Linked DNA regions of Homo sapiens: regions 1, 3, 4, 5 and 6 are each linked to region 2. Evidence: promoter capture Hi-C in 16 types of primary human blood cells and fetal thymus (Javierre and others, 2016). All regions are on one chromosome and are shown on one strand. Each heading gives the region's core, a stretch centred on a gene start or on the middle of the fragment in contact. The rest is flanking DNA. Distances are from core to core; before and after follow the strand shown.

The links. The method cuts DNA at HindIII sites, captures the fragments that hold promoters and counts their contacts. A CHiCAGO score of 5 or more calls a contact.
Region 1: a fragment that was not itself captured here is called in contact with the fragment with the promoter of SLC17A7 in region 2 in 4 of 17 cell types (naive CD8 T cells, total CD8 T cells, naive B cells and 1 more); the score reaches 6.8 in naive CD8 T cells.
Region 3: a fragment that was not itself captured here is called in contact with the fragment with the promoter of SLC17A7 in region 2 in 3 of 17 cell types (total B cells, naive B cells and endothelial precursors); the score reaches 9.1 in total B cells.
Region 4: a fragment that was not itself captured here is called in contact with the fragment with the promoter of SLC17A7 in region 2 in 1 of 17 cell types (naive B cells); the score reaches 5.8 in naive B cells.
Region 5: a fragment that was not itself captured here is called in contact with the fragment with the promoter of SLC17A7 in region 2 in 3 of 17 cell types (naive B cells, total B cells and endothelial precursors); the score reaches 13.6 in naive B cells.
Region 6: a fragment that was not itself captured here is called in contact with the fragment with the promoter of SLC17A7 in region 2 in 7 of 17 cell types (naive CD8 T cells, naive CD4 T cells, total CD8 T cells and 4 more); the score reaches 11.1 in naive CD8 T cells.

What each region holds. Positions count from the first base shown.
Region 1 is chr19:49,570,314-49,574,705 of GRCh38, reverse strand. All of the region lies in intron 1 of NOSIP (nitric oxide synthase interacting protein), which reads left to right. Among named protein-coding and RNA genes, the nearest start is that of NOSIP, 8.0 kb to the left of the region's middle. The HindIII fragment of the contact is 3,513 bases long and covers 517-4,029 here.
Region 2 is chr19:49,438,735-49,443,023 of GRCh38, reverse strand. SLC17A7 (solute carrier family 17 member 7) reads left to right here and starts at 1,497. Exons shown (of 12, transcript NM_020309.4): 1 at 1,497-1,706. The coding sequence starts at 1,645. The HindIII fragment of the contact is 19,375 bases long and covers 1-4,289 here.
Region 3 is chr19:49,240,028-49,244,627 of GRCh38, reverse strand. All of the region lies in intron 2 of LOC107985340 (a long non-coding RNA gene), which reads right to left. Among named protein-coding and RNA genes, the nearest start is that of MIR4324, 67 kb to the left of the region's middle. The HindIII fragment of the contact is 3,473 bases long and covers 1,120-4,592 here.
Region 4 is chr19:49,190,095-49,194,934 of GRCh38, reverse strand. TRPM4 (transient receptor potential cation channel subfamily M member 4) reads right to left here. Exons shown (of 25, transcript NM_017636.4): 15 at 4,615-4,727; 16 at 4,162-4,239. Among named protein-coding and RNA genes, the nearest start is that of TRPM4, 35 kb to the right of the region's middle. The HindIII fragment of the contact is 1,803 bases long and covers 1,249-3,051 here.
Region 5 is chr19:49,287,014-49,291,547 of GRCh38, reverse strand. It overlaps SLC6A16 (solute carrier family 6 member 16), which reads left to right. Exons shown (of 12, transcript NM_014037.3): 11 at 781-943; 12 at 1,156-1,910. The coding sequence ends at 1,425. Among named protein-coding and RNA genes, the nearest start is that of MIR4324, 20 kb to the left of the region's middle. The HindIII fragment of the contact is 6,288 bases long and covers 1-4,534 here.
Region 6 is chr19:49,674,710-49,678,992 of GRCh38, reverse strand. PRMT1 (protein arginine methyltransferase 1) reads right to left here and starts at 1,722. Exons shown (of 11, transcript NM_001536.6): 1 at 1,677-1,722. The coding sequence starts at 1,712. RefSeq lists a silencer at 1,228-1,507 and enhancers at 1,352-2,083, 2,088-2,237. The HindIII fragment of the contact is 567 bases long and covers 2,057-2,623 here.

The DNA.
Region 1 (4,392 bases), core at 1,024-3,523, 130 kb before region 2:
TTTCTCTCTGCCACTGAAGATAGCCATCTGCAAACCAGGAAGAGGGTGTCACCAGAACCCCACAATGCTGGTAGCCTGAACTTAGACTTCCAGCCTCAGGAACTGGAGAAAATAGGTCTGTTGTTTAAGCCACCCAGAGTGGTGTTTTGTTATGGCAGCTGGAGCAGACTGAGACAGGTGGCAGCCATCGAAAACCGCATTGTAAAGCTACAACTGTGTATTTTCCAGTAGCAAGAATTAGCATCCTGTGACTATCCAGGCCCCATCAGCCTCTCCTTTAATGCCATCCATCAACAATCATTGCCTGAGTCAGCTATTTCACCAGAGGTTGCAAAATGGCAGTTTTCCTATTCTCCCATTTCTCTTACACTTAGTCTGAATAATTTGGTTTTTGTCTTGAGTCATGTCCAAGAAGCAGTTGAAGAGAGTGACTTAATCAAACTTCCATTCTGAAAAGCCCCCCTGAGGCTGGTTTGTCAAGGAATAGACTGAGGAAGAGGCCAATTTCTCCAAGCTTCAATTTTCCTACCTATTAAATGAGCAAGACTGGGCGCGGTAGCTCATGCCTGTAATCCCAGCACTTTGGGAGGCCGAGGTAGTAGATCACCTGAGGTCAGGAGTTCAAGACCCAGCCTGGCCAACATGGTGAAACCCCGTCTCTACTAAAAATACAAAAAAAGTATCTAGGCATGGTGGTGTGTGCTTGTAATCCCAGCTACTTGGGAGGCTGAGGCAGGAGAATCACTTGAACCTGGGAGGTGGAGGTTGCAGTGAGTCAAGATCGTGCCACTGCACTCCAGTCCGGGTGACAGAGTGAGACTCCGTCTCCAAAAAAAAAAAAAAAAAAATACTTCAGTCCTGGTGACAGTGAGACTGTCTCCAAAATAAATACATACATACATACATACATACATAAAATAAAATAAATGGGCAGAACGTGGGGAGGTTGTCATGAGGACCGAATGTGTTCACATGTGGAAAGTGCTTCCCACAAGGTCTGATTCTTAAGGGGTTGAAGGATGTGATGATTACTTCTGTTCTTCCAGTGCTTCTGTGATTCACATGTTACTAATGAATTATTAGTGTATTAATGGCATGATGTCATGGCTGCATGGTTAGTTCATTGCTAACCCACCTCCCCTGGCCCTAGGATTGGAGGTGGTTCATTGATTCTATCATGACATCTCTGAGACCTCCCAGGTGCCAGGCAATGCTGGGACCCAGGCTGAAGTTCAACCCAGGCCCCACCAACCAGGGCCCCTACTCTGGAGCCGAAATACCGAGGGACGGGCTGTAACGGAGGTAGCTCAGGGCACGGTCAAGTGCAAGGAGAACCTAACTGATCCCGGAGAGGCAGGCTTCTTGGAGGAGGCAAACCTTGGCAGTGCTCTGGAGGAGAAAGGAGACAGGATTTCAGGGGAGGACAAGACACACACTAGCTGTCTGATCCACTCCCAGAGTTCAGCACAGTGCCTGAGGCCGCCTGCAGCCAGCTGGCACAGTGGATGGTCAAAGCCACAGGTGCTTGGATCAAACACAGCTGTAGGACTCACTAGCTGCATAACCTAGGGCACCGCCTCTGTGCCTCTCTTCATTTATAGCAACTATTTGAGGTGCTGTGATATTCAGTGGAGTGTTGTGATATTCGACCGTTTGAGGTGTTATGATATTCAGTAAAATGCTTAGAGCCAGGGTCTGCTTCAGAGCCGGGCTTTTTTTTTTTTTTTTTTTTTGAGACACAGTCTTGATCTGTTGGCCAGGCTGGAGTGCAGTGGCCCGATCTTGGCTCACTGCAACCTCTGCCCCCAGGTTCAAGCGATTCTCCTGCCTCAGCCTCCCGAGTAGCTGGGACTACAGGCACCTGCCACCACACCCAGCCAATTTTTGCATTTTTAGTAGAGACAGGGTTTCGCCACATTGGCCAGGCTGGTCTTGAACTCCTGACCTCAGGTGATCTGCCCGCCTTGGGCTCCCAAAGTGCTGGGATTACAGGCGTGAGCCACTGCTCCCAGCCATATATATATATATATTTTAAAGTATCTCCAATGAAAATTTAGCATCTGATGGCCAGGCCAATGTGGTGAAACCCCATCTGTGCTAAAAATACAAATATAAAAATACAAAAATGAGCTGGGCATGGTGGCACACGCCTGGAATTCCAGTTACTTGGGAGGCTGAGGCAGGAGAATGGCTTGAGCCCTGGAGGTGGAGGTTGCAGTGAGCCAAGATTGCACTATTTTGCACTCCAGACTGGGCAACAGAGCGAGACTCTGTCTCAAAAAAAAAAAAAAAAAAAAAAGGCTGGGTGCAGTGACTCATGCTTGTAATCCTAGCACTTTGGGAGGCTGAGGCGGGTGGATCACCTGAGGTCAGGAGTTCGAGACCAGCCTGCCCAACATGGCGAAACCCCATCTCTACTAAAAATACAAAAAATTAGCCAGGCATGGTGGCGGGTGCCTGTAATCCCAGCTACCTGGAAGGCTGAGGCAGGAGAATCACTTGAATCGGGGAGGTGAAGGTTGCAGTGAGCCGAGATCACACCACTGCACTCCACCCTAGGTGATAAAAGCGAAACTCCATCTCAAAAAAAAAAGAAAAAAAAAAGAAAATTTAGCATCTGAATTACTGAAATTACTGAGATGTGCTGAAAGAGTAAAATACATTCTGGATTTCAAAGGCTACAAATAAAGGAATGGATTGGCTTTTTTTTTTTTTTTTTTTTGAGACAGAGTCTCACTCTGTCGCCAGGCTGAAGTGCAGTGGTGCGATCTGGGCTCACTGCAACCTCCACCTCCTGGGTTCAAGCGATTCTTCTGCCTCAGCCTCCCGAGCAGCTGGGACCACAGGCGCGCACCAACACACCCAGCTAATTTTTGTATTTTTAGTAGAGATGGGGTTTCACCATGTTGGCCTGGATGGTCTCAACATCTTGACCTTGTGATCCACCCGTCTCAGCCTCCCAGAGTGCTGGCATTACAGGTTTAAGCCACCGTGGCCAGCCTGATTGGCCTTTTTTCTGAGATTGTGACTTTCCTAGGAAAACTGACAGTTGTCACCTAGTTAAAAGGAATGGCTCCAGAGCCTGGCTGCCTGGGTCTGAGTCCCAGCTCTGCCATTTCCCAGCTGGGACATGCTGTGAGCCTGTTTCCTGTGCTGTGAGGTAGGGATTATGCTGACATCGGTCGCTCCTGCTCTTTGCCTGTTTCCTCTCTGAAATGCTGGTGACAGCAGATGGCAGCAGTCTGCTTTGTAGTTTGAAATTGGACCTACCAAAGAGACAATATAGTGTGGGGCAGGAGAGCTCAGCTTTCAGAGTTTGTAAATCCTGAAACTGGCTATTCTTCCACCCTTGGTTGGAGGCGCTCACGCTTTCTGGTCTCAGGATCTTAAAAATCACTGAGTTTTAAAAATCAAAGAGTTTGCCGGGTGCAGTGGTTCATGCCCGTAATCCTTGCACTTTGGGAGGCTGAGGTGGGCGGATCACTTGAGATCAGGAGTTCAGAACTAGCCTGGCCAACATGGTGAAACCCTGTCTCTACTAAAAAATACAAAAAAAAAAAAAAAAAAATTAGCTGGGCGTGGGCGCCTGTTATCTCAGCTACTTGGGAGTCTGAGGCAGGAGAATTGCTTGAACCCAGGAGGTGGAGGTTGCAGTGAGCCGAGATCACACCACTGCACTCCAGCTTCGGCAACAGAGCAAGACTCCATCTCAAAAAAAACAAATTAAATTAAAAAAAGTTTAAATGCTCCCTCTATAGGTGTTCCTCCTATTTTTGGAGGGAAAATGTCCCCATCTATGTAGAAACCTCAGTTCTTGGCCACAAAACAGCAAGCAAGCTCATCTCTGGGAAAGCCGAGGTGCCCAGAGCCAAATACTGCAGAGGGTCAAGGGAGTTGACAACTAAGAATAGAGTGGGGAATGTGTCCATGAAAAGGTCACCGTGACCTTCATGAGTGGCAGTTGTGGGGGCTGGGGAGCGGATGGCAGGTGAGGGGAGGCAACAGGTGTTGGACGTTCACTGAGAAGCTTGGGGGTCAGGGGGAAGTCGGAGGAGGAGCCTGGCATGTGGAGGGGACCCTGGGTCAAGTTGGGGTGTTTGATCAAGGTCGCCCTTCTGCAAGCAGCCCTGGCTGCCTCAGGGGGCACATTGATCGGGAAGGGGCGTGAGGGGGTATTTAGCGTGATAGGAAGGTTCTGTATCTCCATAGGGTCGTGGTCACAAGGGTGTATACATTTGTCAGATCGCATCCAACTGTAAAGGTCTTTGCTTTGATTCTGTGTAAATATACCTAAAACCCAAAGAGTGGCTTCTGAGAAGACGCCAGTAGGGGGAGAGAGAGCTCCATAGCTCCCAGAGGTTTGTGTTTCAAGTTTTGAATGGGAAAGGCAAG
Region 2 (4,289 bases), core at 248-2,747:
GAGGCGGTGGGCGGGGGACAGATCCCATGGGGCAGGGGCAAGACTGGGAGGGCGGGGACAGATCTCAGGGGCGGAGGCCAGAGCTCGGTGGGCGGGGTCAGATTCCGGGGGCGGAGGCAGGACTGGGAGGTCGAGGACAGATCCCAGTGGCGAGGGTCAGAAGTCGGAGGGCGGGGACAGATCCCATGGGGCCGGGGCAAGACTGGGAGGGTAGGGAGAGATCCAGGGGGCGGGGAGAACTGGGTGGGCGGGGACAGATCCCATGGGGCAGGGGTAGAACACAGAGGGCGGGGACAGATCCCAGGGACGGAGGCCAGAACTCGGTGGGTGGGGACAGATTCCAGGGGGCAGAGATAGATCCTGTGGGGAAGGGGTAGAACTCAGATGGCAGGAACAGATTCCAGGGGGCAAGGACAGAACTGAGAGGGCGGGAACAGAGCCAGGGACAGATCCTAGGAGAAGGGGACACAACTCCAACGGTGGGGAGAGAACTCAGAGGGCGGGGGCAGAACTCAGGTCAGCGACAGATCCTAGGGGAGGAGACAAATTCAGAGGGCGGGTGAGGATGCCAGGGGGTGCGGATCACAATTTAGGGGGCGGGACAGATCTCAGGGGGTGGAGACAGAACTCAAATAGAGGAATGGATCCCCCGGAGCTAGGGAAGAACTCAGAGCGCGGACAGATCCCAGAGGAGCAGAGAAATAACACAATGGGGAGACTATGGGGTCGCAGCTGGCACTGGCGGGGTGTGTGAAATATAACTGTGGGGGGCGGAAGCCAGAGGGAAGAAAATCGGGGTTAGGGAATGAAACTCAGGGAGAGAAGCAACAGGGAGGAGAGAGACGCCGGAGGGAGAATAGAGCTGGAGGAGTATGGGATTCAAAGGGGAAAGATGGAAACTAAGGAGGAGATGGAGCTCAAGGGTGAAGAACCCGGGTGGCGAAAGGGACTAGAGGGGGACGACAGGTGGATCGAAGTAGGCGTTGGACTTGAGGGGAAAGAATTTCCCTTGAATGAGAAAACAAAGAACTCCCTGGATGAGACTATTGGAACTGGGGACGAGGTGGGATGGGGATGGAATTGCGGGGTGGGGGCGGGGAGGAGTGAAGGAACTGGAGGATGAACGCAGAGGGAAAGTCAGAGAAGACAGGATTGTAAGGGACGCAATTAGGGGGAACAGAAGTCGGGGAGAGAAATGATGGGGATGAGAACTCAGGAGAGGAGAGAAAATCTGGGTAGGAGCCAGGGGTGATGGAACAGGGATAGGGGGAGTAGCCTGGGGAAGGAACAGAATTGGGGGGCGTGAACTCGGAGGCGTGAGTTCAGAACCCACAGGCGTGGTCTTGGAAGGCTCAGGAGGGGACAGGACGAGGATGAAAGGGCTGCGAGAGGGGGCGGGTCTGACAGACGAGGGGAGGGGCCTGGTGGGGCCGGGGCGGGGCCTCCCGCGCCCCGCCCCCGGCGCTGAGTCCTGTGACAGCCCCCGGGCCGCCTGCACTTGCAGCCTCCTTCCCCCCGAGCGGAGCTGCGGGGCCGGCCGGGCCGGGGCTGGACCCCGGGAACCCGGACGCGGCCGCCCGGGCCCGCGGGCGGGGGGATCGGCGGGGGGGACCCGCGGGGTGACCGGCGGCAGGAGCCGCCACCATGGAGTTCCGCCAGGAGGAGTTTCGGAAGCTAGCGGGTCGTGCTCTCGGGAAGCTGCACCGGTGAGCCTGGCGGGGGTCCCGGGAGAAGAGTGGGAGGATCTGAGGAGGATGCTAATTCCCACCTGGGCGCAGACTGACAGATGAACGGGCGATACCCCGGCATGGGGGTCCACCCATCTGTCCAGTTTTCTGCCGTGGGCTCCGACGGCGCTGTTCTCCCTGGTCGAGCCTTGTCCATTATCCTGTTCCTTTTTCTGCACCCCACCCCACCCGGCTCCACTCTCTCTGGTGCTGTAAATGCCTCTCTCCCGGGTCTCTGGCTCCTCCCCCACCACTTCTGGGTCTCTGTCCCCGTCTCTTTCTGGATGTCTCTGCCCCTTTTCTCTCTGGGTCTCCGTCTCCCTCTTTTTCCAGATCTCGGCTCCCTTCTCTCTGGGCCCCTCCTTCTCCCTAGATCTCTGCCTCCGCTTCTTTGCGTCTCTGTGCCCCTCTCTCTGGTTCTCTGGCCATTGCTCTCACTGGATCTCTATCAACTCCTGACTCAGAGTCTCTGTCCCCCTCTTTCTGGGTCTCTCCTCTTCCCTGGATCTCTGGTCCCCACTTCTCTGGGTCCCTGTCCCCGTCTCTGTGTTTTAATTCTCCCACCATGGGTCTCTCCGTCTCTCTGTGTCTTTTTCCGTTTCTGTCTGGCATGGAGTTTAATCTGCAGCTAAAGCGGATTGGGGCTCATAGCCCGTTGTCCTTGAGGGGGTGAGGCTGGGTGGAAGAAGTCACAGCACCCTGGGTCCCTGGGAGAGAAAGGAGTTAGAGGCCAAAAATTTCGGCTCCTGGGGTAGGACAGCCTTCCCAAAGGATACAGGCTGGGGCTGACAGGGACTCCCTCCCAACCAGGTTGATGACCCCAGTGAACCGAGTGTCCCTCAGGATAATCTGGACACCTCCCCACAGGCTCTCACCCCCAACCCCAGCTTTGGCTCTAAGTCAGATAAATTACTCAGCTGCGGAAAAGCCTAAAAATATATCTGGCCACAGTGCACGAAGGAGATGGCCTCATCAGCACCATGCCCCTGCCGCCGTGCCCTCAGGCCCTGTCCCCTTGGCCCACAGCCCTGACCCTGTGTTTCGCTGAGCTTCAGTCCACCTCGCTAGGCCATGGGGGTCCTTTGCTAAGTCTAACATCAGTCTTGCTTGCTGCAGATCACCTCTTAGCTCCAAAGTTACCCCACCCTCTAGTAACATGAGAGACAAGAATAAGGCTGGACAGAAGTGGGGGGAGGTGGGCAGGAGGATGGTGCAGTGACGGAGGTTGGTGGTGGAGGGGAAGCTGAGATAACCTCACCCCTTCTTTTTCCAATTTTCCAGCCCCTCCCCACCCTTTTTCTCGCCTCCTTTCACGAGTTTCTCAAAATACATCAGTGTGAAGTCAGGAGAATGAGAGAGAGAGAAAGAGACGTGCTGGTGGAGGGGGCTGGGGGGTGGCAGCGGGAGGGATGTATTCCTCAGGCCCCTCCCTCAGTCTCTGCCTCTGTTTCTCATCTGTGCTAGGGTTTCTCACAGTCAATCTCTCTGGCTCTCACTCTCTGAGTTACCTCTTGGGTCCCCAGAGACCCCCGGGCTCTGGCCAGGACCATCAGCAGGGAGTTTGTGCAGAGAAAAGCATTTGCTTCCAATGCCTGGGGTTTGCTCTGATGGTTGGAGGGAGAGGGGAATACCCCATATTAGAGACAACAGGTTGATCTCATTTAATCCTCTAGACAAAGATGGGGAAACTGAGGCTCCATTCTGGGGTTGGGGAGATCAGTGGATGAGTATGAGCCCCATGATTTGAACCCAGGTCAGTCTCCCTCCCAAGCCTAGAACAGAGCTCTTCCTTGAGAAGAGTGATGCCACAGCTGGTGGGGAGCTTCCTTGCACCCAGGGTGACTTGGAACAAGGACATGGGGGAATGGGATGCCAGAGAGATGAGAACCCAAGGTGCCTCCTTTCTGAGAGCCAGGTCTTGGGCAGGGGGATGCCGAGGGCCAGTAAGGGATCAGGTCCCATTGCTGTTCTTGTCTGTGACCTTGGAGTGCCACTTCAGCTCCCCGAGCCTCAGTTTCCTTAGTTGTACAATGGGAAGAGAAGAGAGAGCAGAGGGACATAAGGAGACAAAGACGTGGGGGAGTGGACAGAGATCCTGAGAGAAGCAGAGAGAGAGAGAGGGAGAGACAGAGAAGTTGAGACATCTCAATTTGGGGTAATGGCCTCCTAAGTGTTGTTTTTCCTCATCGCCAAGTCCCCAGGCCTGAGTTTGGGGTATCCAGGGAGGGGAGGGGGATTTACATCTAGGGTCTCCCTTCTCTGTCCTTGTCCCCTGCAAAGCATCAGGGCCACCTTCATCTCTGTGTCCTTGGTCCTCTTGCTCTAAAATGATTGATATCACCTTGAAGTTCCCTCTTTATTCTCTTGCATTTTTGCCCTTGTCCCATTTTATAGATGTGGGATACTGAGACCCCCTGTTTAGACAGCCTTGATTAGAGATCTGACATCTCCTCATATTAACAAGGAATCTCACATCAGGGGCTGCAATCACATCTTGAGTTTCAGGGTCAAATATCATCCGATGTCAACCTGGGTCAGTCTAATCTCTTTGGGTGATGGGTT
Region 3 (4,600 bases), core at 1,607-4,106, 200 kb after region 2:
TTTAGGGAATCAAATATAAAATGTGGATCTTAAATGCATGCTATGGAGGACGGTGCAGCAGTCAAGGACAACAAACCAAGTCTACCTGAGTAACCGACGGCCACACTAAATCACCGTAACAACTCTCACCACTGTGGGGTGCTGAGCCCGGCGCAGTGCACCCATGGAGTCCTAGCTACTCAGGCTGAGGTTTGAGTCTGAGGCTGTAGCCCATGAGGACCATGCCTATGAATCGCCACTGCACTCCAGCCTGGGCAACAGAGTGAGACCTCATCTCTCTACAAATAAAACAAGGCCAGGCACAGTATCATCCCAGCACTTTGGGAGACCGAGCCAGGCGGATCACCTGAGGTCAGGAGTTCAAGACCAGTCTGGCCAACAGGGTGAAACCCCATCTCTACTAAAAAAAATTTAAAAATTTGCCAGATGTGGTGGTGCATGCCTGTAGTCCCAGCTACTTGGGAGGCTGAGGCAGGAGAATTGCTTGAACCTGGGAGGTGGAGGTTGTGGTGAACCAAGATCACCCCACTACACTCCAGCCTGGGCAACAGAGTGAGACTCTAAATAAATAAAAATAAGAAAATAGAGGGTAACGTGCCCAGAACCGAACCTGGCATGTAGGTCCTCTCTAGCTCACCGTCATGCTTGGTCCTTACTCGGGGTCGAGTTCCTTGCCCACTCGGCACTGGGAGGTGGGTCACCTGCTTTCCCTGGGCCACGGCCCAAGAAGCCTCAGAGAACTTGGACCTTACTGTGTTGTCAGTGGGAGGGGGTGACATCACCTGCGTCTTTGAACGTCAAACGGGGTTAAGGCAGCTCGGGGCAGGGGAGGCATCTTCTAGAAGCCATACTGCTCAGTGACTTCCTGGGCAAAGACCCCTTCATCCCCACAAAGTTCATGGCCTTGGAAAAAAAAAAAAAATCAATGCCAGCTTCCTGGTTCCCGACCAATTCCCAAATCTCCACCTGCCCCTCACACCTTTTTATTTACCTTAGAAGTCTCTAAACGTTTGTCACACTCCCCTATTAGATAACAACTTTCTGAAAAAACATCGCAAACAAACATCGAAAATTTACGTTGTGATCTACTGTCATTCTACACACGGTATCAGTGAAGCTTATTTTGCTTATTTTTGTTTAAAAAATAGAAGCAGAAGTCGTCAATTTTTCTTCCTGCATCCCCAACGTAACCAATTCTACAGCCCAATTTAGAGAGCCCTGAGAGCTCAGAGGCAAAGGCCCACCACCCCCTGGGCCCCTTCCTCCTCCTCCCTCGCTCTCCAGGGACTTTGGGTCTGGGATGTCCCAGCCTGGGGAACGGCTGTGTGGAATAGGGGTGGGGCTAAACTCTAGCAGGGAGAGAAGAGGCTGGGACCCCCTCCCCACCCTCACCCCCACCCCTTTTGTCTCCTCTCAGAGCCAGGACAGACCACCAGCCACCAGGAACTGCAAATCACCTGGGCTGTGGTGGAAGGAAGGTAAAATCCAACGTGGGAGATGCTTCCTAAGTCACTTGAGCTCCGGCTCCAGTGGAAAAAAAAAAAAGAAAACAAAAAAGAAAAACAGACTAGGCCAGGCGCAGTGCCTCACATCTGTAATCCCAGCACTTTGGGAGGCAGAGGCAGGCGGATCACCTGAGGTCTTTTTTGTGTGAGATTAGGGTGGTGACACGTATGGGCACTGAGAACACTGTTCCAAGTGCTACAGGAAGCCCCAGTGCCCTTCTTAATACTTCACAGGGGGCTGGGCACGGTGGCTCACGCCCGTAATCCCAGCACTTTGGGAGGCCGAGGTGGGGGGATCACCCGAGGTCAGGACTTTGAGACTAGCCTGGCCAATGTGGTGAAACCGCATCTCTGCTAAAAATACACAAATTAGCCGGGTGTGGTCGTGGGTGCCAGTAATCCCAGCTACTCAGGAGGCTGAGGCAGGAGAATTGCTTGAACTCAGGAGGCAGAGGTTGCAGTGAGCTGAGATCACACCATTGCACTCCAGCCTGGGTGACAAGAGCAAGAGACTGTCTCAAAAAAAAGAAAAAGAAAAAAGAAAAACAGACTAGGCCAGGCGCAGTGCCTCACATCTGTAATCCCAGCACTTTGGGAGGCAGAGGCAGGCGGATTACTTGAGGTCAGGAGTTCGAGACCAGCCTGGCCAACATGGCAAAATCTCATCTCTACAGAAAATACAATAATTAGACGGGCCTGGTGGCGCATGCCTGTCATCCCAGCTACTCAGGAGGCTGAGGCACGAGGGTCACTTGAACCCAGGAGGCAGATGTTCTGGTGAGCTGAGATCACGCCACTGCACTCCAGCCTGGGTGACAGAGCAAGACTCCAACTCAAAAAAAAAAAAAAAAGCATATTGGAATAATTGGGAAAAACGAATAAGGTCTGTAGATAATAGAAGTAGATCGATGTTACTTTCATGATTTCAATGGCACTGTGGTTACACAGGTGAATGTCCCCGTTCTGGAAATACGCACTGCAGTATTTAGGAGTAAAGGGGCATCATGTCTACAGCTTACTCTCAAATGGGTCTGCTACATAATAGGTATTGTTATAATAAATGTGAAAGGCGGTGATGATAAAGGAAACACGGTAAGATATCACAATCAAGGACTCGAGGTGAAGGGTGACTAAGCTCTTATAGGGCACTCTTCATTTTATTGCACTTAGCTTTATTGTGCTTCACAGATACTGCATTTTTTTTTTTTTAACAAATCAAAGGTTTGTGGCAACCCTGCATTGAGCAAGTCTATCAGCACCATTTTTTTCTAACGGCATGCGCTCACTGTGTGTCTCTGGGCTGCATTTTGGTAATTCTCACAATAAAATTTTAAATCTTTTCATTATTATTATTTTTTTTGAGACAGAGTCTCACCCTGTGCCCTGGCTGCAGGGCAATTTTGTGATCTTGGCTCACTGCAACCTCCGCCTCTGGGTTCAAACGATTCTCCTGTCTCAGCCTCCCGAGTAGCTGGGATTTCAGGTGCCCACCACCATGCTCTGCTAATTTTTGTATTTTTAGTACAGACGGGGTTTCACCATGTTGGCCAGGCTGGTCTCGAACTCCTGACATTGTGATCCACCTGCCTTGGCCTCCCAAAGTGCTGAGATTACAGGCGTGAACCACCGCACCGGCCTCATTATTATTCTTCCATCTGTGATGGTGATCTGTGATCAGTGGCCTTTGATGTTTCTATTGTCACTGGGGCCACCACAAACTATGCCCATATAAAATGGCAAACTTAATAAATGTTGCGTGTGTTCTGACTTCTCCACCCACCGGCCATTCCCCCATCTCTTTCTCTCCTTGGGCCTACCTATTCCCTGAGACACACAATATTGACATTAGGTCAGTTAATAACCCTACAATGGCCTCGCAGTGTTCAAGTGAAAGGAAGAGTCACACATCTCTCACTTTAAATCAAAAGCTAGAAATGATTATGAGGAAGGCTCATCAAAAGATAAGACAGGCCAAAAGCTAGGCTTCTTGCACCAGTTAGCTAAGTTGTGAATGCAAAGGAAAAGTTGAAAGATATCAAAAGTACTACTCCAGTGAACACAAAACTAAGGAGTGGCCGCATGCAGTGGCTCACACCTGTAATCTCAGTGCTTTGGGAGGCTGAGACGGGTGGATCACTTGAGGACAAGAGTTCAAGACCAGCCTGACCAACATGGTGAAACCCCATCTCTACGAAAAATACAAAAATTAGCTGGTGTGGTAGCGCACACTTGTAGTCCCAGCTACTCAGGAGGCTGAGGAAGGAGAATTGCTTGAACCTGGGAGGTGGAGGTTGCAGCGAGCTGAGATTGTGTGCTACTGCACTCCAGCCTGGGCAACAGAGCGAGACTCTGTCTCAATCAATCAATAAAAAATAAGAAGTCAAACAGCCTTATTACCGATATGGAGAAAGTGTTGTCTGGACAGAAGGTAAAACCCTTAAGCCAAAGCCTAATCCAGAGCAAAGCCTTAACACTTTTCAGTTCTATGAGGGCTGAGAGGAGGAAGCTGCAGAAGAAAAGCCTGAAGCCAGGAGAGGTTGGTTCATGAGGTTTAAGGAAAGTAGCCATCTCCGTAAAGAAAAGTGCAAGGTGGCTGGGCACGGTGGCTCATGCCTGTAATCCCAGCCCTTTGGGAGGCTGAGGCGAGAGGATCACCTGAGATCAGGAGTTCGAGGCCAGACTGGCCAACGTTGCAAAACCCTGTCTCTATTAAAATTACAAAAAGAAAAAAAATTAGGCATGGGTGGTGGCGGGAACCTGTAATCCCAGCTACTCAGGAGGCTGAGGCAGGAGAATCACTTGAACCCGGGAGGCAGAGGTTTCAGTGAGCCAAGATCGCACCATTGCACTCCAACCTGGGCAACAAAAGTGAGACTCCATCTCAAAAAAAAAAAAGGTGCAAGGTGAAGCACCAAGTCCTGATGGAGAAGCTGCAGCAAGTTATCCAGGAGATCTAGCTAAGATCATTGATGAAGGTGGTTGCACTAAACAACAGATTTTCAATGGAGACAAAAGGCCTTCTACTGGAAGAAGATGCCATGTAGGACTTTCATAGCTATAGAGAAATCAATGACTGGCTTCAAAGCTTCAAAGGA
Region 4 (4,840 bases), core at 901-3,400, 250 kb after region 2:
AAAAAAAAATTAGCCAGGTGTGTTTATACCTGCAGTCCCAGCTACTCAGGAGGCTGAGGCAGGAGAATCACTTGACACTGGGAGGTTGAGGCTGCAGTGAGCCAAGATCAAGCTACTATACTTCAGCGGAGGCAACAGAGTGAGACCTTGTCTCAGAAGGGAGGAAGGAAGGGTTGGGGGGAGGGAGAGAGGGAGGGAGGGAAGGAGATAGAGAAAGAAAGAAAAGAGAGGGAGGAAGGAAGGAAGAAAAGAAGGAAGGAAGGGAGGGAGGGACAGAGAGAGAAAGAGAGAGAGAAAGAAAGGGAAGGAAAGAAAGGAAGGAAGGAAAGAAAAGGAAAGGAAAGGAAGGAAGGAAAGAAGGAAGGAAGGAGGAAGGAAGGAAATAAGTGAGGCCAAGCGCAGTGGTGTATGCCTGTAATCCCAGCACTTTGGGAAGCCGAGGTGGGAAGATCACTTAAGCCTTCGAATTTGAGACCAGCCTGGGCAACATGGCGAAACCCCATCTCTACAAAACATATAAAAATTAGCCGAGCATAGCATGCATCTGTAGCTACTTGAGAGGCTGAGGTGGGAGGATGGCTTAGCCTGGGAGGTTGAGGGTGCAGTAAGCCATGATCGCGCCACTGCTCTCCAGCCTGAGTGACAGATCAAGATCCTGTCTCAAAGAAGAAGAAAGGAGAAGGAGAAGGAGGATGAAGAGAAGGCAGAGGAGCAGGAGGAGGAGGAGCAGGAGAAGGAGGATGAGGAGAAGGCGGAGAAGCAGGAGCAGGAGGAGGAGGATGAAGAGGAGGAAGAGGAGAAGGAGGATGAAGAGGAGAAGTAGGATGAGGAGAAGGCGGAGGAGCAGGAGCAGGAGGAGGATGAAGAGGAGAAGTAGGATGAGGAGAAGGCGGAGGAGCAGGAGCAGGAGGAGGATGAGGAGGAGGAAGAGAAAGAGGATGAGGAGAAGGAGGAAGAGGAGGAGGATGAGTAGGAAGAGGAGGAGAAGGAGGAGGAGGATGAAGAGGAGGAGGAGAAGGAGGATGACGAGGAGGAGGAGAAGGAGGATGACAAGGAGGAGGACAAGGAGGAGAAGGAGGAGGAGAAGGAGGAGAATAGTGAAAGCTACAGAAACTAAGAACTCCTAGAGAAAGAAGGTCAGATGCAGAGAGGACAGCAAGCTCCCTACTGATAGAGAAAACCATCATGGTATTTCACAGTTCTCCTGCAGAATCCTGGTAAGAAGGGAGAGCGGTGGGTCAGAAAGCTTCCCCCACATCTGCCATCTTGAATCACCTCCAGCCAGGCCACAGGCAGGTTCCTGGGCTCAGCCCCAGCCTCTCTGGGGGGATCTTGGGATCTGTCCTTCAACAGAGCTCTCAGTGGGGGGGCTCCACAGGGGCTGAGAGCACAGACTCAGGTACAAGAGGATCTGGGATCAAATCTCGGCTCTACCATTTACCAACCACATGATCTGAGGCAAGTGACTGAATGACTCCATTATTTCACCTGCAAAATGAGAATAATTATAGGCCCTATTGCACTGGGTTGTTGGAATTAAACGAACTGATTTCCGGACGGGTGCGGTGGCTCATGCTTGTAATCCCAGCACTTTGGGAGGCCGAGGCGGGCAGATCACGAGGTCAGGAGATCGAGACCATCCTGGCTAACACGGGGAAACCCCAGCTCTACTAAAAATACAAAAAAATTAGCCGGGCGTGGTGGCGGGCACCTGTAGTCCCAGCTACTCAGGAGGCTGAGGCAGGAGAATGGTGTGAACCCGGGAGGAGGAGCTTGCAGTGAGCCGAGATCATGCCACTGCACTCCAGCCTGGGCGACAGAGTAAGACTCCATCTCAAAAAAAAAAAAAAAAAACCAACTGATTTTCAAAAGAATTGAGCACAGTAGTTGCTCATTGTACGTGTTTCATAACATCAGCTGTTATCAAGGTCGTCATCATCATCACATGTGCAGATGAGAAATTGCTAGGGAAGGACACCATTACTGATCCTGACCTCAGACACTGGGGCCTTCTATCAACCTTTCTCAGTGGTCCAAATGTTTATCTTAGTTTTTCCCTTCTCTCTTGATACATATTTTGTTCTTTTTTTTATTTTTTGACGTTTATTTTTAGTTCAGAGGTACATGTGCAGGTTTGTTAGGTAGGTAAATTTGTGTCATGGGGGTTTGTTGTACAGATTATTCCATCACCCAGGTATTTAGCCTAGTACCCACTAGTTATTTTTCCTGGTCCTCTCCCTCGCCCTACCCTCTGTCCTCCAATAGGCCCCAATGTGTGTTGTTTCACTCTGTGTGTCCATGTGTTCTCATCATTTAGTTCTTACTTATAAGTGAGAACATGGGGTATTTGGTTTTCTGTTCCTGTTAGTTTGTTATGGATAATGGCCTCCAGCTCCAACCATGTCACTGCAAAGGAAATGATCTCGTTCTTTTTTATGGCTACAGATAAATATTTTGTATCCTCTCTACATTGTCTTAAAAAACTATATATAGGCCAGGCATGGTGGCTCATGCCTGTAATCCCAGCATTTTGGGAGGCTGAGGAGGACAGATCACAAAGTCAGGAGATGGGGAGCATCCTGGCCAACATGGTGAAACCCCGTCTCTACTAAAAATACAAAAAAATTAGCTGGGCGTGGTGGCAGGTGACTGTAATCCCAGCTACTTGAGAGGCTGAGGCAGGAGAATCGCTTGAACTCAGGAGGCGGAGGTTGCAGTGAGATGAGATCGCGGCACCGCACTCCTGCCTGGCGACAGAGCAAGACTCCGCCTCAAAAACAACAACAAAAAAAGAAGTTTGATAAATATTCTATTTCATTTGCTTAGGCCTGACTTTTAAAATACCTTAACGGCAACCATAGCATAGTGATTAAAAGCAGGGGCCTTGGGACCACGAACAAAATAGGTGAAAAATCCCTCAATCAACTGATTCCGCTTGCTACAGAGGGATGGAAGTATGTGTAGCATGAAGAAAATCAATTTCTGGTGATGGCCTCCTTGATGGCAGAACCAAATCTTGAGCCAAGTCTTGAGCTTGGCACCTGGGAAGCTTCCTCAGTATCTCAGTCCCTGATGGGACGTGTGATATAGTTTGGATGTTTGTCCCTTCCAAATCTCACATTGAAATGTAATCCCTGGGCCAGGCATGGTGGCTCATGCCTGTAATCCCAGTACTTTGGGAGGCTGAGGCGGGCGGATCACAAGGTCAGGAGTTCAAGACCAGCCTGGCCAATGTGATGAAACCCTGTCACTACTAAAAGTACAAAAGTTAGCCAGGTGTGGTGGTGGGCTCCTGTAGTCCCAGCTATTCGGGAGGCTGAGGCAGGAGAATCGCTTGAACCCAGGAGGCGGAGATCACACCACTGCACTCCAGCCTGGTCGACAGAGCGAGACCCCATTTCAAAAAAGAAAGAAAGAAATGTAATCCCTGGCTGGGCCCGGTGGCTCACACCTGTAATCCCAGCACTTTGGGAGGCCAAAGTGCGCGGATCACTTGAGGTCAGGAGGTTGACACCAGCCTGGCCAACATGGTGAAATCCCGACTCTACTTTAAAGATACAAAAATTAGCTGGGCGTAGTGGCATGCACTTCTACTCCCACCTACTTGGGAGGCTGAGGCAGGCTGATCAGGAACCCAGGAAACAGAGGCTGCAGTGAGCCAAGATTGTACCACTGCACTCCAGCCTGGGCAACTGAGGGAGACTCCGTATCAAAAAAAAAGAAAAAAAGAACAAAGAAATGTAATCCCTAATGTTGGAGGTGGGGCCTGGGGGAAGTGTTTGGGTCCTGGTGGTGGGTCCTTCACAAATGGCTCAGCACCATCCCTTTGGAGACTTTTTGCTCAGTTAGTTCACATGAGATCTATGTGGCACCCCTACTCCTGCTTCTGCTCTCGCCATGTGATACACTGGCTCCTCCCTCACTTTCTGCCATGAGTGGAAGCTTCCTGAGGGCTCACCAGCCGCAGATGCCAGCACTATGCTTCCTGTACAACCTGCAGAACCATGAGCCAATGAAACCTCTTTTCTTTATAAATTACTCAGTCTCAGGTTTAGCAACTTTGTAGCAACTCAAGAGGGGACTAACACAACGTGGAACTGGCACATGTCCTGAACTGCCCAGGGTGTCCCCACCTCACACAGTGCTGGAGGCTCCACTCACCCGACAGGCCCTTCCCCATTAATGACACTATCCATGTCAAACTCTAGCTCCTCCCGTGTGGGCTCCTCTTCTGATTTCCTAGCAAGGGGGGAAGCACAGAGCAAGAAATGAGGGGAAGAGAAGGTGGAGAGGCATTCTCCAGCAAAACTCAAACTTCTTCACCCGGAGACATGGCAGAGGGACAGAGAGGTGGTCTCCTAAAGTCATCCCAAAGGGACCTTCCCCCAGAGCCATGGCCAGAAAGGCAGAGTAACTGCCACTAGAGATACCACAGGGAGGATCCCCCCCAAAACTCACCTCCCACAGCACTCCCTTAGTGGAGGGACAGAGAGTCCCATTCCTAGGGAAGGGACACAATGGGCCGATGAGGGAAGAAAGGTGGGCAGAGGGGGCAGGAAGGAGAAACTGAGCACCCCGCCCCCATCCCCACCACTCTCACCCCAGGGTACTGACCTGAAGGTGATGAGGCGGGTGTAGATGAGTGGAGGGCAAAAGAAGGCGAGAACCAGGGCCCAGATGGGTGTAGTGCTGGCCATATCTCCCCACCACTTCTGTGTCAGCAGAGACTGTGGGGGGTGGGAAGGATTAGGATCCAAATCTCCCCCACAGCCCCGTCCCTAAGACGCCCAGCAAGGGTTGGACTGCAGCTCCAGAGTACAGAGCAAGTGCCCAATGTCAC
Region 5 (4,534 bases), core at 470-2,969, 150 kb after region 2:
TATGGACTCATTTATTAACTCACCCAACAAACATTTTCTTGAGACTTTGTGTCAGGAAAGCCTTGTGGTACTGGGATATGAATGACTTACATTGAGATACTCTTCTCAAAGAGCTCAGAGTCCAAAGAGAAAGACGTATATAAGCAGAAAATCCCAGTACCCGGTGGTAAGTCTATAGTAGAGGTAGCCAGGGAAACTCCGGGGGCATAGATGGTTAGTTAAGGAAGACTGGAGAGTTAGGGAAGGTGGCCTAGAGAAGAGGATGCTTGAGCAGAGCCTGGACAGATGAATAGGTGGAGATAGGGTGATGGGCACCCTAGACCAAAAGACCCCACTTGTATATTTATTGAGATTGAGAATATGTACTAAAGGAGACTGGATAGGTGGCTGAAATAAACTAGATAAGTTCACCAAGGGCCAAATGCCACTTTATTTTATCTGTGTTGTTCACTGCTGGATATCCAGCACTTAGAAGAGTTCCTGGCACATCATAGACATTCTCATATTTATGGGATGAATGAAAGAGACTTGGCCTTTCTCCTGAGGCCATTGGATACCCATGGAAAGTTCTTGAGCAGGAGAGGGGTGTTTGGAAAAGTTTCTTGGGTTAGGATAGAAGACAGACTGACTAGGGGGAAGATGAGAGAGGACAAGACTTGAGATGAAACAGGAGATTAGAGATACAATAGAATGTTTGAAAGATGCCAAGGTTGGGCTGGCCCTGCCTCCAAGGTGGTGAGGCCTAACTGGGCATCCCACACTCTGGTGGCCCTTCTCCAGGTTCCTTGCAGACCTGACGATCCTGTTGGGCCACCCCATCTCTCCCATCTTTGGTTGGCTGTGGCCCCATCTGTGTCCAGTTGTGCTGCTAATCATCTTTGTGACCATGATGGTTCATCTTTGTATGAAGCCGATCACCTACATGTCCTGGGACTCAAGCACCGTGAGCCTCCCCCAGGACCCAGAACCCCTTTGGGAGTAGGGGCCAGACCTTTCAATTCACTCTGGGTGAAAGAACCCAGTCATCTCATTCTCTTACTGCCCGAAGACTCATGGGTTTTCTGCTTTGGTTCCCCACCCATCCTTCCCCTCCACAACTCTTCCTTTTCTCTTGGGGATTTTGATATTCTGAACCCTTTTCCCATCTCTCCACAGTCAAAAGAGGTGCTTCGACCATACCCACCGTGGGCACTGCTCTTGATGATCACCCTTTTTGCCATTGTCATCCTCCCCATCCCTGCATACTTTGTATACTGCCGCATACATAGGATTCCCTTCAGGCCCAAGAGCGGAGACGGGCCTATGACAGCCTCCACATCCCTACCCCTAAGTCACCAGCTAACACCCAGTAAAGAGGTTCAAAAGGAAGAAATTCTACAAGTTGATGAAACAAAGTACCCATCAACTTGTAATGTGACTTCCTAACTTCATTAATTTGGCTTCACATAACATATCCCTTAGAACAGATCCAATAGACAACTCTTAATATCAGCTTGCAACTGTTGATCTCCCTGGATCCAGAACCACTTTTATTTCCAAGAGGAGGGGCATTCTTTGGGGGTGTTCATGGGGCCTGGACTTGCAATCCCTTCCTGGGTCCCATCTTACCTGGTGACCACCATCATTGTTTTCCCCATCCTCTTCCTCAACACACATACATGCACAACACATATACAATACTAGTGATGTCTACCAGTCCTGCTACTTCTGGGGTGCCTGTCTCCTGGAATGGAGCTGGAGGAGCAATGCTGTTGGTGAATAAATCAGTCTACTGGAACTCCAAGGACTGGATGTAAGCAGATCTTTTTTTCCTATAGATGTCTCAGATGTTCAGTTTTCCTGTCACAAGGCTTCCAGTCTGTATTAGTTCATTTTCACACTGCTAATAAAGACATACCTGAAACTGGGAACAAAAAGAGGTTTAACTGGACTTACAGTTCCACATGGTTGGGGAGGCCTCAATCATGGTGGGAGGTGAAAGGCATTTCTTACATGATGGCAGCAAGAGAAAAAAATGAGGAAGAAGCAAAAGTGGAAACCCCTGATAAACCCATTAGATCTCATGAGACTTATTCACTATCACGAGATTAGGATGGAAAAGACCAGCCCCCATGATTCAATTACCTCCCCTGGTTCCCTCCCATAACACGTGGGAATTCTGGGAGATATAATTGAAGTTTATATTTAAATGGAGACACAGTGAAACCATATCATTCTGCCCCTGGCCCCTCCAAATCTCATGTCCTCACATTTCAAAAGCAATCATGCCTTCCCAACAGTCCCCCAATGTCTCAACTCATTTCAGCATTAATCCAAAAGTCCAGAGTGTCATCTGAGACAAGGCAAGTCCCTTCCACCTATGAGCCTGTAAAATCAAAAACAAGCTAGTTACTTCCTAGATACAATGGGGGTACTGGTATCAGGTAAATACAGCCATTCCAAATGAGAGAAATTGGCCAAAACAAAGGGGTTACAGGGCCCATGCAAGTCCAAAATCTAGCAGGGGAGTCAAATTTTAAAGCTCCATAATGATCTCCTTTGACTCCAGATCTCACATCCAGGTCATGCTGATGCAAAAGGTGGGTTCCCATGGTCTTAGGCAGCTCCACCTCGTGGCTTTGCAGGGTACAGTCCCCCTTCCAGCTGCTTTCACGGGCTGGTGTTGAGTGTGGCTTTTCCAAGCTCAGGGTGCAAGCTGTCAGTGGTTCTACCATTCTGGGGTCTGGAGGACAGTGGCCCTCTTCTCACAGCTCCACTAGGCAGTGCCCCAGTAGGGACTCTGACTCTGTGTGAGGGCTCTGACCCCACGTTTCCCTTCTGCATTTCCCTCCCTGGCAGAGGTTCTGCATGAGGGCTCTGCCCCTACAGAAAACTTTTGCCTGGACATCCATGCATTTCCATATATCTTCTGAGATCTAGGCGGAGGTTCCCAAACCTCAATTCTTGACTTCTGTGCACCCGCAGGCTCAACATCACGTGGAAGCTGCCAAGGCTTGGGGCTTCTACTCTCTGAAGCCACAGCCCGAGCTGTACGTTGGCCCCTTTCAGCCATGGCTGGAGTGGCTGGGACACAGGGCACCAAGTCCCTAGGCTGCACACTGCATGGGGACCCTGGGCCTGGCCCACAAAACCACTTTTTCCTCCTGGGCCTCTGGGCCTGTGATGGGAGGGGCTGCCATGAATGTCTCTGATATGGCCTGGAGACATTTTCCCCATGGTCTAAGGGATTAACATTAGGCTCCTTGCTACTCATGCAAATTTCTGCAGCTGGCTTGAATTTCTCCTCAAAAATGGATTTTTCTTTTCCACTGCATCATCAGGCTGCAAATTTTCTGAACTTTTATGCTGTTTCCCTTTTAAAACGGAATGCTTTTAACAGCACGCAAGTCACCTTCTGAATACTTTGCTGCTTAGAAATTTCTTCTGCCAGATACACTAAATCATCTCTCTCAAGTTCAAAGTTCCACAAATCTCTAGGGCAGGGGCAAGATGCCACTAGTCACTTTGCTAAAACATAATAAAGAGTCATCTTTGCTCCAGTACCCAACAAGTTCCTCATCTCCATCTGAGACCACCTCAGCCTGGACCTTATTGTTCATATCAGCATTTTTGTCAAAACCATTCAGTAGGTCTTCAGGAGGTTCCAAACTTTCCCACATTTTCCTGTCTTCTTCTGAGCCCTCCAAACTGTTCCAACCTCTGCCTGTTACCCAGTTCCAAAGTTGCTTCCATATTGTTGGGTATCTTTTCAGCAACACCCCACTCTACTGGTACCAGTTTACTGTATTAGTTTTCATGCTGCTGATAAATACATACCTGAAACTGGGAACAAAAAGGTTTAATTGGACTTACAGTTCCACATGGCTGGGGAGGCCTCAGAATCCTGGCGGGAGGTGAAAGGCACTTCTTACATGGTGGTGGCAAGAGAGAAAATGAAGCAAAAGTGGAAATCCCTGATAGACCCATCAGATCTCATGAGATTTATTCATTATCATGAGACAGCATGGAAAAGACCAGCCCCCATGATTCAATTACCTCCCCCTGGGTTCCTCCCACAACACATGGGAATTCTGGAAGATACAACTGAAGTTGAGATTTAAATGGGGACACAGCCAAACCATATCACAGTCTTTCTAAAGCTAAATGTCCAGCCCTGAGTTCCTGCCCTCCCCTTGCTCTGGCAAACTCAGATACTAGATTACCAGGCTTGCATTATCCACGGGCTGGCCTTTAGCCAAGGGAAACCTGGGAAATGGTGACTTCAACAAAGATGGGGAAGATATTAATGTGCTTGCTACTGATACATGATAATCCTATTATAGGTCTAAAATTATTTCTAAAAAGAGGTTGCACTCAAGGTTTGAACATTGTGTTGTGGACTGAGTACATCTGTAAATCAGTGCCACAACCAGTTACTAACAAGCTGTTTCACTGAGCTCACCAAGAGTCCCATTTCTGCTCAGTACTGGGCACCACTGGTTTTTATCCCAGGGTCAAATCAACTGAACTTGCCCAGTGGATGATCACTGAGTGG
Region 6 (4,283 bases), core at 1,091-3,590, 240 kb before region 2:
AGAATCGCTTGAACCCGGGAGGCGGAGGTTGCAATGAGCCGAGATCAAGCCATTGCACTCCAGCCTGGGTGACAGAGTAAGACTCCGTCTCAAAAAAAAAAAAAAAAAAAGTGGCTTGGGGAGTCAGGCCATCGCCCCCATTCAGACACCCATCCCAGGCCCTGAAGACTTCCAGGTGCGGCCAAGCCTGAGGCCACCTCTGGGAAAGTTATTTCCTCCATCCATAGAGCCCCAGGTGCAGGAGACAGCCAAGAGGGTGGGAAGTCATTACAGTGACCCCTGGGAGCTGCATCCTGACAGCTGAGAGCTGACCTGCCCCTCCAGCCAATGCCATAGGTAAGGGGTGGAAGGACAGAGGCCCCATCAGATTACATCTCTTCCAGATGTGACCACTATCCAAGTCTCCAAGAAGGGCCACGTCACAGGCCATGACCTACTAGGCTCCAAGCACCCTCCCTCCAGCTCTCCCAAGCTAGCGGGGATGCCTATAAGAAGAAAGGTGCTGAGGGGGTTTCCCACTCGGGCCTATTTCTCAATACCACTGAAAACTACCGCCAGACAACCCCAGCCCCAGAGGGCTTGAAACGCAAGACTGAAACCTCCCCCACATGGCTGCACGAGAACCAAACCTCACTCGAAACCATTTCAGGCACCCACTCTCAGGACCCCAGGGCTCAGGACCCTGCACAGGGCTTCAGGAAGAAGGAGGTCATCTCGCACCCTCACAAAGACCCGGGGGAGATAAACGGCTCCAGTAGGGTAAAGCTCTCAGCCTACATATTTCCCACAACTCCTTCCCAGCGGACATACCCTCCTCCCTCCGCCCGCCAGGAAGAAATCCGAGGGGAGGTGGGCTTCAGGACACGCCCCATGAAAAAGATGTCCCTCCCACACACCCAGAAATGGCCACAAGGGGGTGCACGGCGCCTATTAATGGGAAAATCTCTATCTAGATGCCCCACCACCACCCAGAGGGAGGTCACAGGGGCATGCCCCATCCCCCAACTCCTAAAGCCCTGGGCGAGGGGGAGAATTCTGGGAGGGGAAACGGGGTCGGCGGGGGACCCCATTCTTGGTTTTCCTCCAGTCCCTAACCCAGAACGCACAAAACCGGGTCCGATATCCCAACAGATGCCCCCGGAGCTCGGAAGGAGGTTGGTAAAGGGCTGAGAAGCACTGCTCCTCCCAAGAGACTCCCCACATCGTGGAGGGCCCCAGGTCGATCACACCCCACGGCGTGTGCCCAGGTCCCCGGGGAGGAGGGCTGGGGGCGTCAGGAGGGTCGGACCCCCTCCCCGCCCCCCTGGGCGCCCCTCCCCGGCCGGGGGCGGGGCCTTTGTCCCGCACGTGGAGCCCGCCGGGCCACTGGACTCGGCACACCCCCTCCCCACCCACCGCGCAGCGGCCACGTGGGGGCCTGGCCGGAAGCGCCCCCAGCCCTCCTCCACGTGGGAGGGGGGATAAGACCCTCCGCTAGGCCGGATGCCGAAGGCCCTTGGAAGCTAGGGAGCCGTCACCTCAAACGATATCCCCGGATGTGGAACGTGCGGCGCCCCCGTGTGCGGCGGGGGACCTCCAACCCCATATCGCCAACTTAGAGCCCTTTCCCCACCACAGAGGCGTGAAACACCGACCCAAAGCCGCCTCCCGCCCACGGCGGCGCTCCAAGCGCTCACCTCCATGATGCAGTTCGCGGCCTCGGCTGCCGCCATCTTCACCCGCACCTACTCCTCCTCCGGCCGCCAAGACCCCCCCTTTCTCCTCACTCCCCCGGGACCGCCTTATACCAGAGGGTCCACGGCCCGCCTACCGCGACCCCGCTGGAAGATTTCATTGGCAATGGAGGCGGCCCGTCTGAGAATACCGTCTAGTAATTGGCTAGAGAATACGTCCATCATAGGTCAGGGGTTTGCCAACTCTGGCGTCCAGAATCCCGCCCCCTCAAGTCGACCCGGGATGGGGAAAACTGCCCGTCTATTGCAAGAAGCGCGACTGGTGATTGGGCAAAATCCACCAGGAATGCCCTCCCCTTTACACCCAGCACCGCCTCAAAGCTTCCCGGGGAGCCCCGCGCTAAAGGGGCGTCTTGAAACACCTGTCCATCACCAAAACGACCCGCCTCCTAATCGCTGCCATTGGTTTATCCGGAAGCGACGTCACGCAGCCTTTGGCCCACCCTCGCCAAGCGGCCGGCCTCAAGGAGAACACGGCAATTGGCCCACGGGTAGGGAAGAAGGCGGGGCTTCAGGCACCAACGATTGGCTCAAAGGAATTATCACTCCTCGTCCACTCGGTGGATCCTCCCAACCCGGGGGGAGTCTGGAGGAAAAAGGGAGCTTGTGCTCATTACCTGGGGGAAAAACGGAATCGGTGAGAGGCCCAGAGAGAGGAAGGGCATAGCTGGGGTCCCGAAGCAAGTGAGGAATAGGAGTCCGTCGTCAACACATTAAATCCCTAGCCCTTGACATAATCATTCCAAGTTTTTTAAAACCATCAACCCCTCTCAAGCCACTTGGTTTTTGCCAAGTCCCTCCCCCTGCCAGGAACGCCCACCTCTCTTTGTCTGGTCAGCTTCTAAACGTGAATCAGAGCACAGCTTAGGCACCACTTCCTCCGGGAAGCTTTCCTTGATTTGCAGAAAAAGTTCCTAGTTGAATGAAGCTGAATGCAAAGGGCCGAATGCGTGGGTCCTGCCCCTCCTCTCCCCGATCCCTCTACTTCCCTCTGCTCACACTTCTCTCCAATCCCGGAATGAGCTCGCTCTTTGGTTTCTGGGCCTCCGCGCAGGCTATACTCTCTGGCGTGCCGCTGGCAAACGCCTGAGACTTAAAATTTACAATAGGGTTCGGGCGCGATGGCTCACGGGTGTAATTCCAGCACTTTAGGAGGCGGAGGCAGGCGGATCACTTGACATCAGGAGTTCGAGACCAGTCTGGGCAACATGGTGAAACCCCCATTTCTATTAAAAATACAAAAATTACGCCAGGCGGCCGGGCGCGGTGGCTCACGCCTGTAATCCCAGCATTTTGGGAGACCGAGGCGGGCGGATCACAAGGTCAGGAGGTCGAGACCATCCTGGCTAACATGGTGAAACCCCCGTCTCTACTAAAAATACAAAAAATTAGCCGGGCGTGGAGGCTTAGGCAGGAGGATGGCGTGAACCCGGGAGGCGGAGCTTGCAGTGAGCTGAGATCGCGCCACTGCACTCCAGCCTGGGTGACAGAGCGAGACTCTTGTCTCAAAAAAAAAAAAAAAAAAAATTTGGCCGGGCGCGGTGACTCACGCCTGTAATCCCAGCATTTTGGAAGGCTGAGGTGGGCGGATCACAAGCTCAGGAGTTCGAGACCAGCCTAGCCAATATGGTGAAACCCCCGTCTCTACTAAAAAAACAAAAATTAGCCGGGTGTGGTGGTGGGCGCCTGTAGTCCCAGCTGCTCCAGAGGCTGAGGCAGGAGAATCACGTGAACCCGGGAGGCAGAGGTTGCAGTGAGCTGAGATGGTGCCACTGCACTCCAGCCTAGGCGACACAGCGAGACTCCATCTCAAAAAATAATAAAATAAATAAAAATAAAAATAAAAAAATTAGCCAGGACTGGTGGCACACGCCTGTAATCCCAGCTACTTGGGAGGCTGAGGCAGGAGAATCGCTTGAGCTCAGGAGGTGGAGGTTGCAGTGAGCCAGGATGAAGCCATTGCACTCCAGCTCGAGCGACAGACCGAGACTCTAACTTTAAAAAAAAAAAAAAAAATTGAAAAGCATGGCACTAAACAAACCAAGAAAAGGACATTTGTTTCCAGTGTTTGAGCTGAAGCAAGAGGAGCCCAGCTGCAAATATGCACATCAGGTCTTTAGCTTGTTGCAGCTCTGTGCATAAGCATTGCCCTCCAAAACACCACAAAAGCACTGCCTTAATTTTTGGGGTATGAATACATTGTAGCAAGGATGCAAATTTGCAAATAATCTACAAATACTGAGGATCAACTGTAATTGGTTCGGTTTGTAATCCTGTACATTTCACTTATTAATTTACAAACATTACTCTGTGAAGGGGGATATGGCCCTATAAAGGAGACAAACCGCCCAGGCACAGTGACTCATGCCTGTGATCCCAGGACTTTGGGATGCCAAGGTAGGAGGATCACTTGAGCCCAGGAGGTGGAGACCAGCCTGGGCAACATAAGGGAGACCCCATTTCTACAATTTTTTTTTTTTTGAGACGGAGTCTCGCTCTGTTGCCCAGGCTGGAGTGCAGTGGCGTGATCTCAACTCACTGCAACCTCTT